2 separate regions of the Homo sapiens genome follow, and region 2 is linked to region 1. Evidence: promoter capture Hi-C in 16 types of primary human blood cells and fetal thymus (Javierre and others, 2016). All regions are on one chromosome and are shown on one strand. Each heading gives the region's core, a stretch centred on a gene start or on the middle of the fragment in contact. The rest is flanking DNA. Distances are from core to core; before and after follow the strand shown.

Region 1 (6,738 bases), core at 3,392-5,891:
GATCACCTGAGCCTGGGAGGTCAAGGCTACAGTGAGCCATGATTGCACATGTGCACTCCAGCCTTGACAACAAAATGAGACCCTATTTCAAAAAAAAAGAAATAAAGAAAATGTCCTAAAACATCTAATATATCCAATTCAAGAATATTTAAATAGAATGCTTTTTTTTTTTTTTTTTTGAGATGGAGTCTCGCTCTGTTACCCAGGCTGGAGTGCAGTGGCATATTTTGGCTCACTGTAACCTCCGCCTCCCAGGTTCAAGAGATTCTCCTGCCTCAGTTTCCTGAGCAGCGGGGACTATAGGCACTCACACCACGCCCAGGTAATTCTTGTGTTTTTTTGTAGAGACAGGGTTACACCATGTTGGCCAGGCTGGTCTTGAACTCCTGACCTCAGGTGATCCGCCCACCTCGGCCTCCCAAATTTCTGGGATTACAGGTGTGAGCCACCTTGCTTGGCCTTTTTTTTTTTTTTTTTTTTTTTTTGAGACAGAGTCTTGCTCTGTCACCCAGGCTGGAGTGCAGTGGTACGATCTTGGCTCACTGAAGCCTCTGCCTCCCGGGTTCAAGCGATTCTCCTGCCTCAGCATCCCGAGTAGCTGGGACTACAAGCGTCTGCCATGACGCCCAGCTAATTTTTTTATTTTTAGTAGGGACGGGGTTTTGCCATGTTGGCTAGGCTGGTCTTGAACTCCTGACCTCAGGTGATCCGCCCGCCTCCGCCTCCCAAAATGCTGGTATTACAGGCATGAGCCACCGGGATTACAGGCAGGAGCCACTTGGGAGCCCAAGGTGGGCGGATCACCTGAGGTCAGGAGTTCGAGACAAGCCTGACCAACGTGGTAAACCCCATCTCTACTAAAAATAGAAAAAACTTAGCTGGGAGTGGTGACAGGCACCTGTAGTCCCAGCTACTCAGGAGGCTGGGACAGGTGAACCCCATCTCTACTAAAAATAGAAAAAACTTAGCTGGGCGTGGTGACAGGCACCTGTAGTCCCAGCTACTCGGAAGGCTGGGACAGGAGAATTGCTTGAACCCGGGAGGCAGAGGTTGCAGTGAGCCGAGATCGAACCACTGCACTCCAACCTAGATGACAGAGTGAGACTCCGTCTCAAAAAAAAAAAAAAGATTTTAATCAACAGATAATTAATATTTTATTACATAATAAAGATGAAACACAATTCCATATCTTTCATAGAAGCTGAACCGACACAAGGATTTCTAACTAATTATGTTCTTTTACTACTAATGAGGTGAAGCATATGCCAGAATAATGTTTCTTGTTTTTTGTTTTTTTGCTGCTGTTGTTTTTTTGACAGGGTCTCATTCTCAGCCAGGCTTGAGTGCAGTGGCTTGATCACAGCTCACTGCAGCCTCAACCTCTTTGGCTCAGGTGATCCTCCCACCTCAGCCTCCCAGGTAGCTGGAACTACAGGTGCACGCCACCATGCCCAGCTATTTTTTGTATTTTTTAGTAGTGGCGGGGCTTCACCATGTTGCCAAGGCTGGTCTTGAACTCCTGGGCTCGAGCGATCTGCCGGCCTTGGCCTCCCAAAAAGCTGGGATTACAGGCATGAGCCACCTCGATCAGCCTCAGAAGAATGTTTTAAAAATAGACTGCATGTATTTTTTTGGTTTCAAGTAGAGAAGTTTTAAGGCCTTCTGTTTTATATTGTTCTTACATCTTGGCAGCACTTTTTCCTGGGAACATGGAAAGCACATGATTAATTTCAAGATGGAAATATCAGAAATCATGTTCGACTCATCATTTATCACATCCAATTTGTCATCAGGCCCTGTAGATTTCATTTCCAGCATCTTTTGAATTCATTCTCTTTGAACATTTTTATTTTCATTGCCTCATACCAGGCCTTTATTTTCTTACTCAGTTTACTATAAAAGCCTCCTAAACTACATTTGCTAAAGACTTAACTTTTTAAAACAAAGAACATTTCACATTATGTCCTTAAAATATCCATTGCATAGAGAAGAGGTCCTCAAACTTCTAGAGAAGGCGGAAAATCACACGGCTCTTTGAATAGCTCATAAGTAAAAGACAATTTGGGAAAATTTGGGTTCTTTAGGACTGGTCAGGGTGACGCAAAATGTAATGAAATGCTCCTTCACATCTTGCATAAGAAACTAGCAGCCCATGGTTTTGCAGTGATAAAACAATCAGAGTATCGTCTGAAATCATCTTACAACCATATGTCCACTAGCCATCTGGAAACAGCTGGCCTTAGGAATTAGGAAATGGCCTACTGAAAACTCAGCTGTAATGCCTGCTGCAAGGCAACATCTTGAGTAGTTCAGGTTCTAATTCTTCTTGAATGAAATATAGATTTTTAATAAAAACAGCCTATTTTTCTCACAGTAAGATTACACTGGTTTGAGAATAAGATGCTCCACTCTCATTATCCTTATGTGTTTTTTGTTTGTTTGTTTTGTGTGATGGAGTTTCGCTCTTGTTGCCCAGGCTGGAATGCAATGGCATGATCTCGGCTCACCGCAACCTCCACCTCCCAGGTTCAAGCAATTCTCCTGCCTCAGCCTCCCGAGTAGCTGGGATTACAGGCATGCGCCACCACGCCCGGCTAATTTTGTATTTTTAGCAGAGATGGGGTTTCTCCATGTTGGTCAGGCTGGTCTCGAACTCCTGACCTCAGGTGATCCACCTGCCTCAGCCTCCCAAAGTGTTGGGATTACAGGCATGAGCCACCGTGCCCGGCCCTAATGTGGGTTTTTAGGGTTCAAGAGAAGAATGTTTCTACTAGGGCATAATTATCTCTATCTTATCTTATATTTCCATTTGTTATTTTAAGAAGCTATTTTTTTTCTATCATTTTTCTTTCCCCTGTTATTGTAGAGGTCAGGCAAACTTAAAATTTAGTCCATTAGTCAACTTGAGGTGACCGTGAAGAAACTGTAGGATATTAAGACTCTAGACTTAGAAAACAGCAGACCTCAATAGCTACTATATGTTTTCCAAGAGGTGCAGCTCTTTCAGTCAGCTGATCTGATAAGCAGCATACTCAGGTACTGTTGCTCATGTCCAGGGACCCTACCATATCCTGTGGTTTTCAGGGTCCTTATATTCTGTGCTCTCTTGGCTCTGGCACCAGGCCTTTTCTGGTCCACTGTTTCTAACTCCTGGTAAAGTGTTGTTTTAAGGCAAAAAACATCTTTACGGGGAACCAGACATAAAAAGAGTTCCTGGAGGCCCTGCGTGGTAGCTCATGCCTGTAATCCCAGCACTTTGTGGGGCTGAGGCCGGTGGATCACTTGAGGTCAGGATTTCAAGACCAGCCTGGGCAACATGGTGAAACCACACCCCTCCACTTCTCTACTAAAAGTACAAAAAATTATCCGGGCGTGGTGGTGGGCACCTGTAAACCCAGCACTTCGGGGGGCCAAGGTGGGCGGATCACTTGAGGCCAGGAGTTGGAGACTAGCCTGGCCAACCAACATGGTGAAATCCCATCTCTACTAAAAATATGAAAATTAAGTGGTGGCTTGCGCCTGTAGTCCCAGCTACTGGGAAGGCCGAGGCACGAAAATCGCTTTAACCTGGGAGGCGGAGGTTGCAGTGAACCTAGATCGAGTCATTGCATTCCAGCCTGGGCGACAGAGCGAGACTCTGTCTCAAAAAAAAAAAAAAAAAGTTCCTGGAACCGTTTCTGCACATCACTGAAAAATGATAGCCTCTCCCCAAATATCCTAACTTAAAGGTGCTATTAGGAGAATCTTGCTGCCTGCTAATAATGGGGTGTCCATAATTACCCCATGACTTCAGTGAATTCTCGTGCCTGTTTCTCCCGATCTAAAATGGGTATATTTCATTTACTAAATTTACTTCTGAGTACTGTTGGGGAAAAGATCCCGGTGTTTGTTGAAGAATGCTAGATATAATGAAAGTTAAACACAGTTTAACAAATTAAAATTATTCCCTATTGCTCTGTAATATCTAATTGCACACTGCTCTACCCCAGACCATTGTATTATCTCCCCGCCCCCCCCCCCAGAATATCATGAAATGCAACATATTTGCTAAACCAGTTTTGGTGATTTAAAACAAGTTCCAAGCACAAGCTTCTTTCTTGTAATGGTCAAGTGGCCTACGAAACCAAAGCGCCAACTGAGAACGTTTTGCTGCTGCACTCTGAAATCCCAGCGAGAACGCAGGCAGCGATGGCAGTTCTGGAGCACCGGGTTCCACTTCTGCCTCTGACCGGCTTTGTGACTTCCACCACATTAGATCTGAGTTTCCTCCATGTAAAATGGGGCGGGAATGGAGGCTGGACCTGGGAGGTGTCGCTGATGATCGTCTCTGACTCGCTAAGTCGCGGAGTCACAAAAGTGGCGGAAAGCATGCCCTCACTTTTTGGGAAGAGTAGGACGAGGGGCGGGGCTGCAGCGAGACCCACCAGTCTCGCTTTCCAGGGCAGGCGGCGGCCAGGAGCTACAGCTGTGGGCTGCACTCCCGGCGTGGAGTCTCCTTCCTGCCCGCGCAGGCCCCGGCGCCCCAGCGAAACGCTCCGGCCGCTCCCCTCTCCCAACACTCTGGTTCCCGGGCCGCCTGCGGGGACGCGGTTGGCGGCGACACCGGAGGGGGGTGGGTCAGGAAGTGGGGGCGCGGCGGCCAGGAGCGGGCCCCCGGAGGCCGAGGGGTTCGGCGACGCGGAGGGAGGGAGAGTCTGGGCCGCGCGGGAGCCGCAGGGCGCCCTAGCCTTCGCAGAAACGATGGCGGAGGAAGAAGGTGATTGCCGCGGGGTCCAGCGCGCCAACGGCTGCCAGTGGTCTCGGGAAGGAGGGGCGGGGGCGCTGGAGGTCTGGGTTGGAGCTGCTGGTGGCCGCGGTCGCGGTGGCGGCCGCGCGGGCAGGGCGGGAAGGAGCGCGGCGCCCAGGAGAGGACTGCGGAGAAATTCAGGAGAGCGGAGCAAATGGCCCGAAGTTTTGTCGGCCGAATTGGGAAGCAAAGGTGGAGCTGAAAGTTGGGAATCCGTAGCAAGAGAGAAAGCTGTGCCGGGAGTGGTTGGGAAAGAGGGAGGGTCCTGATCAGATTCTTGGTGAAGTGGGAGGCGCAGTTTGGTTTCGAAGATCAGGTTTAGGTACTCAGTGCATATTTGGAATGCGATTTTTAAAGGGCTGTGGATATTGACAAACCCAGAGGCACAGGGGGCGAGGGAACATTCACCACGGGGATAAAGAGGCAGGGATTTGGGATAAACGTGGCAAGATTAATTGGGAATGGGCGAACACGCAGAAACTGAAGAAAGCCAAGTTCACTTAGGTTCAGGGGAAAATGGTAAAGAGCAGAGCCATCTAATTATTATAGTTTTGGGAGATGATGAGGCCAGGAGGCCTTTGAGGGTCAAAGTGGGTGAGCTGGAGAAAGGTTTCCATGCCGCCTTCAGGATCAATGCTAAGATAAGTAATTCATTCAGCAGTATTTTATTTATAGAAAATGATAAGTATGAGACAAAAATGGGAAGTTAGATGAAACTTATCGGTTAGTGATAAACAATACAAGGAATACTCATGGCATAGTAACTTCATGATAACCCCTACTAGTTTCAGGAAGTGAGAAGCAATTAGATTTTTGCATTCTGGTGGAAAACACAACTTTTTACCTTATGAGTGGAGCTGTGGATGTGATAGTAAATCGATCTAATTTAGACTCAAGCCCCCCTGCCTTTTTTTTTTTTGAAACGGAGTTTCGTTCTTGTTGCCCAGTCTAGAGTGCAAAGGCGCGATCTCGGTTCACCGCAACCTCCGCTTCCTGGATTCAAGCGATTCTCCTGCCTCAGCCTCCCTAGTAGCTGGGATTACAGGCATGCGCCATCACGCCCGGTTAATGTTATATTTTGAGTAGAGACGGGGTTTCTCCATGTTGGTCAGGCTGGTCTTGAACTTCTGACCTCAGGTGATCCGCCCACCTCGGCCTCCCAGAGTGCTGGGATTACAGGCGTGAGCCACGGGTCCAGCCGACTCAAGCCTTTCTGAATCAAGAGTGCAAGGAAGGAGTTTAAAGGATTCAGCGGAAAGCAATTTTTAAAAATTAAGCATAAGAAGTGTTTACTGATGTGTGACTTGCTGACCTGTCCCTATGCAGGCTTGGTTCATATTTGTTTCCATTGAGTTTTCAGAGTGTTAAAGCTGGTCTGAATTTAAGACATTCTAACTAAAAACAGCTTCAAAAACAAAGCTATTTGTCGTTGGTGAGAAAGAATGTAATTCCATTTGTTTACTTGGTTCTGTCTGTGGTTACAGTATATCATCATTTGAAATATTTCTTGATGTATTTTTCTTTTCTAATTGCAAATTTATGGGGGTAGGTTGATATACTAGCTTGTAGGTTCCTATGAGTACATTCATGCTTAACTTAAAGCATTAAAAAAGTTAAGACTGCATTAAAAAATCAGTACTACAATACTGAAAGTCTTTAATACATCATGCAAAATGAAAAATTATTTTAGACTATGGTTGTACTTAAATAGATCTGTGGAGCCAATATTAAAAGATTGTACCGTTTTGTAAATTTTACTTACGTGATGTAAAATGATAAATGGGCGGGGCATGATGGCTCATGCCTGTAGTCCCAGCACTTTGGGAGGCCAAGGCGAGTGGATCACTTGAAGTCAGAAGTTCGAGACCAGCCTGGCTAACACAGTGAAACCCCATCTCTACTAAAAATACAAAAATCAGCCGGGTGGAGTGGCAAGTGTCTGTAGTCCCAGC
Region 2 (7,510 bases), core at 1,736-4,235, 150 kb before region 1:
AAGAGCAATTTGAAGAAAAACAAAATTTATCTTCAATGTGAAAAGCAATTTATAAAAATCCGAATACTTGCCAGGAGCAACTTGACAAAAAAGACAAAGGTGGTAGAAGAAATGTAACCAGCCCACAATTCCAATGTTGATAACAGATGAGCTCCCTTTCAAGGTGACTGACATTTACACAAGTACACAGAGCAAGAAGAAGGTCTGAGTGAACTGCCAAGCATTTTAACTTCTCCTGAGACCAAGTACATCAACAGTTCTCTTGGAAAAGAACAACTGATTTGGGAGTCTAGCAGACTGCCAGCTGCAAGACATTCATCCAGCATCAGGAACACAATGGGCCTTCATTTGCCTGCCTTTCTGAGGGCACCAATCAAAAGTAACAGCTGCCACCTTTTTCTATGAGACTTGATTATAATTTTCTATGGCCAAGGGTTTGCTGTGACACTTCCACATCATTCTTCAGTATGTAGTCCAGAGATTAGCTACAGATTCAAGAAACACAGACTGTAAACTATTATATACAGACATATCTCAAAATAAGCATACCCATTAGTGCCAGCTGCCCTGAAAGACTGAATGACCCCAGCTATTTTCCAAATGTTTTTTCAGAAAGCCATGAACACACCTTTCTGGGATCCTATCTATTTCAAAGACAGGCAAAGCTCTGTGGTTCAGTTCCACCACCCAGTACCAAGCCCACAGTATGCAGACCATACGCCTTACACATGGCCTTTTCTCTTTATGTAATTGCTGTACCATATTCAGCAGATCTAGACTGACTCAAAGCATGTTCCCTCAAGAAGCTCCACAGAAAAAAAGGTTTCTGTGATCAAAAATCATTTGGGAAATGCTGCAAACCCTATCTGCCTCTTAGAGCTTAACCATGCATGTCGGGGCATAATATAAACCTTTTCCAGTCTGGGCCACAGAGTGAGACCCCACCTCTAAAATAATAAATCAATAAACTCTTGAGAAGTACACAGAAAAGAAACTTCTGTAACTTTTTAGGTCTTAATTACAAGCAATTGTAGCTTAATCTAAACTTGCTCTTCACTTTATTTCTATGCTCTTGAAAACTAGTGACATAAGCCTTATGAATTTTTTGTTTGTTTGTTTCTTCTTTTTTTAAGAGAGAGACAGGGTCTCATTCTGTTGCTCAGGTTGGAGTGCAGAGGCACAATCATAGCTCACCGTAACCTTGAATTCCTAGTCTCAAGTAATCCTCCCATCTCAGCCTCCCTAATAACTAGGACTACAGGCACATACCACCACATCTGGCTAGTGTGTGTGTGTGTGTGTGTGTGTGTGTGTGTGTAAAGACAGGGGTCTCATTATGTTCCCCAGGCTGGTCTTGAACTCCTGGGCTTAAGCGATCCTCCCACCGCAGCCTCCCAAAACTTTGGGATTACAGGCATGAGCCACTACACCTGGCTGGATTATTCTTTCTTTAAAAAAATTTTTTTGGCCGGGCGCCGTGACTGTAATCCCGGCACTTTGAGGGGCCGAGGCGGGCGAATCACGAGGTCAGGAGATAGAGACCATCCTGGCTAACACGGTGAAACCCCGTCTCTACTAAAAAAAAATACAAAAAATTAGCCGGGCGAGGTGGCGGGCGCCTGTAGTCCCAGCTACTCGGGAGGCTGAGGCAGGAGAATGGCGTGAACCCGGGGGGCGGAGCCTGCAGTGAGCCGAGATCGCGCCCTGGGCGACAGCGAGACTCCGTCTCAAAAAAAAATAAATAAATAAAAACAAAAATTTTAAGCATAAATACAAAGGTTAGGTAGATTTAAAGATGGCCGGTAGCATGAAGTGAGCTGTCTAAAAAGTTGCTTTTACATAAGAACTTTATGTTACTTGATGAGCAAGTATTAATTGGGCTCTCTGTCTCTTCTTCTCTCTCCCTCTTTCTCTCTCTCTCTCTCTCTGGATCCACTTTCCCTCCTGCATCAGGGAGTCTACTCCTATGTAAATCTTCTGCAGGTTGTGCAGTGGACTTCACCTAGTCTCCCATCTCCAGCTAATTTGGCCAAGAATAGTCACCTGGCGCAAGGTGGGGAGGGAGCTCTCAATTGGCCAGCAACTTCTGACGTGTGACCTGACTGAACAATGAGAGGCTCGAGTGAAATTACCAGCTGGTAGTAGGACAGAGGATATAGATACATGGAATGGAGCTGAGCCAAATTAATGACAAAGGACTAGACAAGAATGACTGTTGATGATCACCTATGCTGAGATCACAAAGCTGCCCCGAGTCCAGAAGCAGGTTCACTGAGGGAGGCTCAACCATGTTACCAATCTTGTTTGAGATTAATGTTCCTTGTTGTAAACCTCAAGTCTGTTTCTTGCAATCAAACCATTCTAAATTGAAACAACTACTTAGAAAGTGTTTCTATGGGTTCAGTGGGACATTTCAACCAAATGAAATATGATAATGATCTTAAATGAACTAACAATAGTGTTGCAGAAATAAAATACAAATACCAGAAAGATAGCCAGGCACAGTGGCTCATGTCTGTAATCCCAGCACCTTGAGGGGCCCAGGCAGGAGGATCCCTTGAGGCCAGGAGTTTGAGACTAGCCATGGCAACATAGCAAGGCCCTGTCTCTATTAAAAAAATAATAATAATAATTTAAAAATTCGCCAGGCACAGTGGTGTGCACCTGTGGTCCCAACTACTCCGGAGGCTGAGGAGGGAGGATCACTTGAGCCCAAGAGTTCAAGGCTGCTATGAGCCATGATCACACCACTGCACTACAGCCTGGGCAACAGAGTGAGACCTTGTCTCTAAAAAAATACAAACAAAATACAGATTTAACCAACTCATGCCCAGCTTAAGTACAGAGTTTAAGAGTGTGCATTTAGAAACTTCATAAGTGTTTGGAATCCTTGAGTGTTTTATTTTGCTTTAATTTTGGTCTTCAGATTCAAAGGGTTATTGTTTGTTTGTTTGTTTGTTTTGAGACGGAATCTCGCTCTGTCACCCAGGCTGGAGTGCAGTGGCGCGATCTCGGCTCACTGCAAGCTCCGCCTCCCGGGTTGACGCCATTCTCCTGCCTCAGCCTCCGGAGTAGCTGGGACTACAGGAGCCCGCCACCACGCCCAGCTAATTTTTTGTATTTTTAGTAGAGACGGGGTTTCACCGTGTTAGCCAGGATGGTCTCTATCTCCTGACCTCGTGATCCGCCCGCCTCGGCCTCCCAAAGTGCTGGGATTACAGGCGTAGCCACAGCGCCCGGCCGATTGACGGCCATCCCGTCTCTACTAAAAATAAAAAAATTAGCCAGGCGTGGTGGCGGGCACCTGTAGTCCCAGCTACTCGGGAGGCTGAGGCAGGAGAATGGCATGAACCCGGGAGGCGGAGCTTGCAGTGAAGCGAGATTGCGCCACTGCAGTCCGGCCTGGCCGACAGAGCAAGACTCCGTCTCAAAAAAAAAAAAAAAAAAAAAAACTTTCCTAATGACCTCTTTGCTTCTAGTCTCGTATTTCAATTAGTTGTAAACACCATGGGAAGAGTAAACTTTCTGATAAATCTTTTCTTTACTTTTATTCTTCTTTCAAAATAGTCAATGCTCAGTTTCCTTTTCTAAACAAAATTTAATTAATTAATTAATTAATTTTGAGATGGAGTCTCTGTCTCCCAGGCTGGAGTGCAGTGGCACGATCTTGGCTCGCTGCAACCTCCGCCTCCCAGGTTCAAGCGATTTTTCTGCCTCAGCCTCCCAAGTAGGTGGGATTACACGTGTGTGCCACCATGCCTGGCTGAGTTTTGTATTTTTAGTAGAGATGGGGTTTCGCCATGTTGGCCAGGGTCGTCTCGAACTCCTGACCTCAGGTGATCCGCCCCTCTTGGCCTCCCAAAGTGTTGAGATTACAGGCATGAGCCACCACACCTGGCCCCTTTATTTCTTTTTAGTTTTTGTTTTTGAGACTAAGTCTCACTCTGTCACCCAGGCTGGAGTGCAGTGGCATGATCTTGGCTCACTTCAACCTCTGCTTCCCAGGTTCAAGCAATTCTCCCACCTCAACCTCCGGAGTAGCTGGGACTGCAGGTGTGTACCACCATGCCCAGCTAATTTTTGTATTATTTGGTAGTGACAGGGTTTCACCACGTTGGCCAGGCTGGTCTTGAACTCCTGGACCTCAAGTGATCTGCCCATTTCGGCCTCCCAAAGTAAGGGGATTACAGGCATGAGCCACCGCGCCCCGCCAGTGCTCAGTTTCAATTCTTTAGTTCATTCCCAGGTTACAAGACACATTTCACAGTGGAATTCAAGGCTTTCCTCCATCTGACCCCAACTGACCTCTTCCATTTTGTCTTTAGCGCCTTCATTTAAAGTCATCCACTCACTAAACATACTAGGCTTTCTGCCTTGGCTCAAATTGTTATACTCTTGAATGTGTTGAACTCTCTCTCGTCTTCTCTGACCATCTTAATTCTTATGTATTCTTGAGAAACTATCTAGTTCAAATTCTTTTCCAGGCTGGGCAAGATGGCTCATGCATATAATCCCAGCACTTTGGGAAGCTGAGGCGGGTGGATTGCTTGAGCTCAGTAGTCCGAGACCAGCCTAGGCAACATGGCAAGACCCCATCTCTACAAAAAAATACAAAAATTAGCCAGGTGTGTGGCTGTACCAGTAGTCCCAGATACTTAGAGGGCTGATGTGGGAGGATCACTTGAGCCTGGGAGATCAAGGCTGCAGTGAGCTGGGATCACACCACTGCCCTCCAGCCTGGGCAACAGAGTGAGAACCTGTCTCAAAAAACAACCAACCAAGCAACCACAAAAAAACACCGCCTGCACAAAAACAACAAATTCCATTTCCATAAGGAGTCATTGACCATCCCAATTCTCATTTATTCACTCATTCAACAAATACATAAAGAGCCTATCATATCCAGCTACTATTAGGCAAGGGAATACAACCATGAAAATGATGTAGTCTCTTCCTTCAAAGGGTCTGCAGTTTCTGGAGGAAAGGTTAATTATAATACAAAAATAAGTGACATGATAAAATACACAGTAATAGCATACAGGAACCCCTATCTCCTATTGGGTGTGGTGAACAGGAAAGTTTTTCCAAGTTCTGAAAGATGAATAGAGTTAGCTGGCAAAGAGGAGACAAGGGTATTTCAAACAGAGGACAAGAACATTATTAGAAGCACCACTGCACTCCAGCCTGAGCGACAGAGCGAGACTCTGTCTCACAAAAAAAAATGATAATAATAAAAAATAATTCATAGGAGGGGGCTAAAAGTCTGGATTTGGATTTTTGACAGTGGAAATGGAAAAGAAAGGAATGAGAATACACATTATAAGGAAGGAGGTTATGAAATTTTGGTTAATTAATGGTCTCTAATGATTAGCATGAGCATGTAGAACTCAATGTTTACTGATTATTTGACACTCTAAAATTCTGGTCCATACCCATAGCAGAAATAAAGGGTGAACAAGATGATGAGTTTAAAAATTCAGCTGTTTTAATAAAGTTCATTGTTAATTTTTTTTAAGAAATGAGGCTTTCAGCCAGGCGTGGTGGTTCACACCTGTAATGCCAGCACTTTGGGAGGCCAAGGTGGGCGGATTGCCTGAGGTCAGGAGTTGCAGACCAGCCTGGCCAACATGGCAAAACCCCGTCTCTACTAAAAATACAAAAAAAAAAAAAAATTAGCTGGGCCTGGTGGCACAGGCCTGTAGTCCCAGCTACTCAGGAGGCTGAGGCAGGAGAATCGCTTGAACCTGGGAGGCAGAGGTTGCAGTGAGCCGAGATTGCACCACAGCACTCCAGCCTGGGCAACGGAGCAAGACTCCATCTCAAAAAAAAAAAAAGGAAATGAGGCTTTCAAAAGTCATCTTGAAACTTTATAGCAAGACCTCATTTCTCCAAAAAAAAAAAAAAAAAAAAAAAAAAACATTACCCAAGTGCAGTGGTGCACACCTGTAGTCCCAGCTACTTAGGATGCTGAGCAGGGAGGATTACTTGAGCTGCAGTGAACTATGATCTCACCACTGCACTCCAGCCTGGGCAAGAGAGGGAGACTTCGTCTTAAAAAAGAAAAGAAAAGAAAAGAACATTTAGATGCCAGGCAAATGTTTTATTAGTACAAGGCCAGAAATGAAAATCTCAGGCAATTTCAAGGCCCAGTTGCAATCTACTGCCACCTACTGGGGAGTCAACTGGAGGCTGGAGGGGAAATGTATACTTTATTAATTATTAATTGCTAAACCTATTATACAAACTTATAGTTAGTTTCATAAGGTCATCTATTCTTTCAGATCTTTACTATAAACTGGAATTGTTGTATCACTACCAGATCATGGGCCCTATAGCTTTATTACTGACTGATCAAGCTTGATGCCTTATCCCATTTTAATTCTACTGCTTAGTGAGTGGTTTTAGGATTTCCTTAGGTTAAGAATTTCTTCACTTCTTAGGTTAAAACAGCAGCCAGGTGCAGTGGCTCATGCCTGTAATCCCAGTACTTTGGGAGGCTGAGGTGGGAGGATCATTTGAGCCCAGGAGTTGGAGACCAGCCTGGGCAACAGGCAACAAAGCAAGACCCCATCTTTACCAAAAGAAAAAAAAAATACACCTGGCACGGTGGCTCACACCTGTAATCCCAACACTTTGGGAGGCTGAGGCAAATGGATCTTGTCAGGTCAGGCATTCGAGACCAGCCTGGCCAACATGGTGAAACACCCTCTCTCCTAAAAATACAAATTTAGCCGGGTGTGGTGATGCAGGCCTATAATCCCAGCTACTCAGGAGGCTGAGGCAGGAGAATCACTTGAATCCGGGAGGCAGAGGTTGCAGTGAGTGAGATCACACCATTGCACTCCAGCCTGGGCGACAGAGTGAGACTCTGTCTCAAAAAAAAAAAAAAAAGAAAAAGGAAAAAAATAGTTATGATGGCATGCGCCTAAGGTGCAGCCTGGGTGACAGAGCAAGACCCTATCAAAAAAACAAACAAACAAAAAAAAAACCCACAGCAAAACTTTGCTAGTTGCTTTTACAAGGATGTTGTAAGAAACACTGGCAACACCAAATGTTGGTGAGGATGTTGGGCAACAGGAACTCTCATTAACTGCTGGTGGAAACACAAAATGGTACAACCATTTTGGAAGACAATTTAGCAGTTTCTTACAAAATTAAACATACTCTTACTACACAATCCAATATTCCATGCTTATTAGTATTTACCCAAAGGAATTGAAAATTCATATCCACATAAAACCTGCAGATGAATGTTTATAGCAGCTTTATTCATAATTGCCAAAACTTGGAAGCAACAGAGATTTTCTTTAGTAGGTGAATGGAAAAATAAACTGTTATATCTAGATAATAGAATATTACTCAAAACTAAAAAGAAAGAAGGTATTAAGCCATAAAAAGACATGGAAAAAACTTTGATTCATATTTCTAAGTAAAATAAGCCAATCTGTAAAGCCTGCATACAGTATGAGTTCAATTATATGACATCCTGAGACACTAATGGCCCTCCTAG

Evidence for each region. The method cuts DNA at HindIII sites, captures the fragments that hold promoters and counts their contacts. A CHiCAGO score of 5 or more calls a contact.
Region 2: a contact is called between a fragment that was not itself captured here and the fragment with the promoter of DPY19L4 in region 1, in 1 of 17 cell types (megakaryocytes). The highest score is 6.6, in megakaryocytes.

Annotation. Positions count from the first base shown.
Region 1 is chr8:94,715,259-94,721,996 of GRCh38, forward strand. It overlaps DPY19L4 (dpy-19 like 4), which reads left to right and starts at 4,642. Exons shown (of 19, transcript NM_181787.3): 1 at 4,642-4,756. The coding sequence starts at 4,741. RefSeq lists an enhancer at 3,735-4,689 and a silencer at 4,450-4,769. The HindIII fragment of the contact is 11,065 bases long and covers 4,088-6,738 here.
Region 2 is chr8:94,568,157-94,575,666 of GRCh38, forward strand. It overlaps VIRMA-DT (VIRMA divergent transcript), which reads left to right. Exons shown (of 2, transcript NR_183271.1): 2 at 1,954-2,494. Among named protein-coding and RNA genes, the nearest start is that of VIRMA-DT, 18 kb to the left of the region's middle. The HindIII fragment of the contact is 6,738 bases long and covers 1-6,354 here.